2 separate regions of the Homo sapiens genome follow, and region 2 is linked to region 1. The links are contacts of gene promoters, found by promoter capture Hi-C in human tissues and cell types (Jung and others, 2019). All regions are on one chromosome and are shown on one strand. The core of a region is centred on a gene start or on the middle of the fragment in contact, and the rest is flanking DNA. Distances in the headings are between cores, read along the strand shown.

What was found. The method cuts DNA at HindIII sites, captures the fragments that hold promoters and counts their contacts. A contact is called where the count stands out against the background at its distance.
Region 2: a fragment that was not itself captured here is called in contact with the fragment with the promoter of RALYL in region 1 in 1 of the 25 tissues and cell types used here (ovary).

What each region holds. Positions count from the first base shown.
Region 1 is chr8:84,181,945-84,184,696 of GRCh38, reverse strand. RALYL (RALY RNA binding protein like) reads right to left here and starts at 1,423. Exons shown (of 9, transcript NM_173848.7): 1 at 273-1,423. The HindIII fragment of the contact is 16,405 bases long and covers 1-2,752 here.
Region 2 is chr8:84,129,256-84,131,955 of GRCh38, reverse strand. No RefSeq gene overlaps it. Among named protein-coding and RNA genes, the nearest start is that of RALYL, 53 kb to the left of the region's middle. The HindIII fragment of the contact is 3,818 bases long and covers 1-2,700 here.

The sequences.
Region 1 (2,752 bases), core at 174-2,673:
GCCGGGAGACGACCTGGGCGCAGCTCACCGTGGGAGGGGTGGGGGGAGGGGACTGTATTTTGCGCACATCTAGAAAACGATCCTGAAGCAGGGAACGGACTTTGGTTTTCCCTGGCTCCCTGCGCCGCTCTCCCCACCTCGGGCTCGGACACTGCCCGGAGATGCGCGCGCGCAAACACAGACACACACACACACTCACACTCACACATTTCTTTGCTAGGACCAGTGTTGCCACTGCACACCCGGGAAACGCCTCCAAGGGGACCAAGTACCTGCTCTCTGCGAGCTGCTCAGCTGTTCACTTCATCCTCCGTTGACAAGGAAACCAAACCGCACTTCATTTTTTTTTTTCCAGAAAAACCTTCCACTGCCATCATTTGAAAATTGATTTACGGGGAGGGAAGGGGGAGAAATAAGGGACAATATAGATATAGATATCAGGATATCTATCATAAAATTATCTCGGTTTTTTAAAAAAGTCAAATGTGCAAAAGTCATAGTTAATTTAAAGGAGGAAAAAAGTATTTTGCTTAAAAATGATCCCAATCACCAGCTGTAAGAAAAGTTTCATGTTATCAATGGGTATCAAAAACAGGAGGGAAAAAAAACGAATTTGTTTTCACCGGCTTCCAAAAAGGGCACAAAAAATATAAAATTAATGTCTTTGCTCAGTGGTTTGCACCAGTATTGCAAGACCACAAACTTGTAAACACTGCCGTAAAATCCCACCTATACAAAAATGTTATCAGAAAAAGAGTATGCAAAAAAAGAGTTAGAAACATGCTTTTTATTTTTACAAAGGAAAAAAATAGGCACCATACTTCACATCGCTTTTTCCATAAAACCAGTTGCACATTTTGCTGGACTTGGGAGACGCTCCCAGCGGGCACGGTCGCCGCGGACTCCGAGACACAGCGCCTTGTCTACAGAACGATCGCATGCTAGAAAAACTTGGATTCAGGAAAAGGCTCAAAACCATGCTCCTCCAGCTTTCCCAAATATAAACAATAATCAAAGAAGTGGAAAAAAAGAAAAAAAACAAAAACAAAAAAAACAAAAAACCAAAAAAAAGGACAAAAAAAAGAATAGGACAAGAATGCCACTGAGAAGGTACTCACCGAGCGGGAGTAAAATGTTGGAATAAAAATGAGATTTAGTATAAAATACAGTATGGCGGTGGAAGAAGGAATGAAGCGCGTTTTTTTCTCGCAGTCTCTGCCTCAGGCACTGACACGTGACTCGGAGCCAGGCTGACTTGCAGGCAGCGGGGAAGGACCGAGGCTGCGAGGGGGGAAGCCCACGGAGCCCAACTCTGGCTGGCGAGGCGGCGGCGGCGGCGACGGGGAGCCTGGCGCCTGAGAGCGGCAACACCAGTGGCGGCAGCAGCGGCAGCGGCAGCTCGCGGCGAGGCTGCCTTCGCTGTGAGCCCAGACGAGCAGGTGCCCCTCACGCTGAGGCTGAGCACACGCACACGCACACGCAAGACAGGCAGGGCGCCGGCGAGAGGGGGAGCCGAGCGGGGTTGGGCCCGAGGCGCGCAGCTGCCGCCGCCTCTGCCGCTGCTGCCGCGATTGCTGCTGCTGCCTCTGTTGCTGCCGCCGCCGCCTCGCATTGGGAGTGTGTGCTGTGGGGGCAGCTCAGGGGTGCTGATCCAGCGCCTTGAGAGGAGGTGCACAACTTGCTGCTCACCTCAAAGTTGTTGCTTGCCACTTCCTTGTGTATTTCATCTATTTTTCATCTACAGGTAGTTACCTGGGGAGAGATCCCATCGTCTTCTCTCTGGAAGTTTTACTATTCAAGCCCACATTCACTCATTCATTTTGTTTGTTTGTTTGTTTGTTTCCCTGATTTTCCATTTCCCATCCCTCCCAAGCTGCCTTTGCCTCTGCTGTTCCCTCCTCCCTAGATCTGCGTTTCCCCCTCCCGGTTCTCAGGGAACCTGGCTCAGCGCGATGCTGGGGGCGTTGTCACGGGCAAAGCCACTGTCAATCTTTATTGCCATCTGAACGCACAGCCTCTCTTTCGCCGTCTTCAAGGGGAATGCTTGCAGTTTGAAAGACACAACAAAATCTCTTATTTAGGAAACCCCGTCCCGGGTTTCTTTCTGCGGGTTGCGGAGCGGTGGGTGGGGGCATGGGTGTCCTTTATTCATTCGTGGACAAGGCATTGTTTTGTCTGTGTGTGCGCCCGTGCTTCTGAGCTGGTCTGGAAAGCTCCAAGGGTCTATGCTCCATGGCAGAGACTCCTGTTTGACTCTTGCTCAAGTTGTTCGCTGAGGCTGGAAGTCAAAGGAGAGGGGCATGGGAAACAAGTGAGTCCATTGTGTGAGTGCTCGCCTGGAGGGAGCAAGCACTTGGCGGTCGAGAGGGGGAGACGTGTACCAGCAGTGAGGCGGTGGCGCACCCCGCGGGAGCCAGGTGGCTGAGCAGTGGATTCTGAAGGTGAGGGTGGCAGAGGGATTTCTCCACCCAGCGTGTGGGTTAGGGCGCTCATCGATCGCCTGAACAAAGATGCCATCAGCCAATCGCTGGGTGCATTGGGCTTCTATTACTGCCTGTTGAAGAATCAGCTTTGTGGACGCTAGAACACATCTATTTTTCTTCATTTTTGTACAATACTCACCTCAGGACCATTTCCCTGTGCTGCTTTGAATCTAGGTTGTGTGGAATTAATTGGCGTCTCTATATTTGAGAATGAGCAATTAACACAATTCTGCAGTTCAAAGATTCCTGCTCCCGATCTTTATCTCAAT
Region 2 (2,700 bases), core at 39-2,538, 53 kb after region 1:
TTCATCTACTTATTCATTTATTTAACAATTATTTGTCAAGCTTCAGTTATGTATCAGACACTATTCTGCTGCTGGAAATGTAATAGTACTGTGTAAAAAGTAAAATATTTGGTTTTTTTTTTCGTTTTGCAGAAACTGATCACTACCTCTTTGATAAAATACTTGTTTCATTTAACTTCCAAGACAGCCCAATCACCTTGCCTCTACTCTCCTCTTCTTCCCTCACCAGTTAATCACAATTTTTTTTTTTTTTTTGAGTTGGAGTCTTGCTCTGTCGCCCAGGCTGGAGGGCAGTGGTGCGATCTCGGCTCACTGCTAGCTCCGCCTCCTGGATTCACGCCATTCTCCTGCCTCAGTCTCCTGAGTAGCTGGGACTACAGGTGCCCGCCACAAAGCCCGGCTAATCTTTTGTAGTTTTAGCAGAGACGAGGTTTCACCGTATTAACCGTCTTGATCTCCTGACCTCGTGATCCACCCGCCTCGGCCTCCCAAAGTGCTGGGATTACAGGCGTGAGCCACTGAGCCCAGCCAATCATAAATTTTTATAAGACTTTTTGATTGACCATAGGACATTAAATAGTTTTTTGGTTTATATTCTCATAGGGAGAGGAAAATAGTACAAAAATGAAATACTATATATTAAGTGTTGTTAAGGGATATGAAAAAAAATAAACCAAGTAAGGAGCTGACAACTGATGAGAAGAGCGTTCTTTTTAAATAGGGTAGACAGGAAATGCTTCTCTGAAGAGGGGAAATGGAGTCATATAAATATCTCAGAAAACATCACGTGTGAAGGACCCAAGTGAGAAACACTTTTGACTAGCTCAAGGATCAGTGGGAAAACAATGGCAAATTGAGACAAAGACTGACTAGTAGAAGATGAGGTCAGGGGTGGGTGGTGGGCAGAGATGTGCAGATCATATAACATTTTGAAGGTTCTGATATGAATTCTGGACTTTATTCTGAGTGAAAAGGACATTTATGGGTGGGTTTGAAGAAGATCTACCTCATGATCTGACATATTTTTTAATTTATTATTTTTTAAAATTATGGTTAAAATGCATAAAACATAAAATTTACCATCCTATTTTTGAGTCTACAGTTCAGTAGTGTTAAGTACATTCACAGTGTTGTGCAACCAATTTCCAGAACTTTTTCATCTTGCAAAATCGAAACTTTATACTCGTTAAACAATTACTCTCAATTTTCCACCGCATCTAACTCCTGGCAACCAGCATTCTACTTTCCATTTTTAGATACGCCTAGATATCTCATGTCTAGAGTAGTTTGGCTACTCTAGATACCTCACATAAGTGGAATCATATTTGTCTTTTTGTGAGGGGTTTATTTCACTTAGCATAATATCCTCAAGGTTCATGCATACTGTAGCATATATCAGAATTTCCTCCTTTTTAAAGCTAAATAATATTCCATTGCATGTATATATTACATTTTGTTTATCCATTCATCTGTAGGTGGACATTTGACAATAAGCTTCTACCTATTGGCTATGGCTGCTATGAACAGGTCTTCACAACCCTGTCTTCAATTCTTTTGAGCATATATCCAGAGATGAAATTGTTGGATTTAATCTGACATATTTTAAAAGGATCATTCTGGATGCTGTATGGCAAGAAGACAAGGTGAAAGCTAGAATAACATAAAAACAGGAAGACCAGCCAGAGGGCTATTGACAAATTCAAAGAGAGTGATGGTGGTATCTCAGGCTGGAATTGTAATGATGTAGATGGTGATAAAATGGCCAGATTTTGGTAGGGCTAACTAAATGTGTTTCTGGATTAGAAGTGGAGTCTGAGAGAGAAAGAGGAGTTCTTGATGACTCTAAGCAGTTTGGCTTGAGCAATTACAGCAAAAGAGGCAGGAAGAGGAGGGATAACAGGAGCGGTTCACCCTAAGGTGTGAGAGTGAAGAAGTGTATGGTTTAATATTGAAGAAAACGTCAAGCGGTCAATTACATATTTTTATATTATTTAGGGGAATGTTAGGGTCTAAAAGTATATATCTGGGAATTGCCATGAGTGTGTAGATGGTATTTTAAGGCCACAAGACAGGATGAAATTCCCCAATGAGTGAATATAGATGGACAAAAGATGTTCAAATACTGAGTTTTGGGACTACCTGATATTTAGAGATCGGTAAGAGAAGAATCACCTGGTGGAGAGAGGAGAGAAGAATGGGTCATGAAGGAGAGGAGAGGCAAGGTGAGTGGTCTGTCTTGGAAGTGAAAGGAAAAAAGTATTTTATCAAAGAGGTAGTGATCAAGGGTTTCAAAAGCTGCTGACAACAAAAATACTTAACAGAAGAGGAAATAAAAATGTCCTTTCAGCATCTGAAAATAAACTAATTATGCCTAATAAAAGAAATATAAATTTGAACTATATTGGAATACCACTTATTATCTATTAGTTTGAAAACCATGCAAAAATTTGACAATATTCCCTGATAGGAAAGTTGTGGGGGAATTAAAGCCTTCCTATTGTTGGTGGGAATAAACAATAATATAACCTCTACAGAGAAAAACTGAGCAATAATTAAAAAATAATGTATGCATTTATTCTTGACCCTGTCACATTTAGGAACCAATTCAAAAATATGCAAGAAAAAAGTACATAACAACTAATTTTCAATGACATAAAACACAACAAATTAGCCACCCCTCCCCTTCAACAATAAAACATT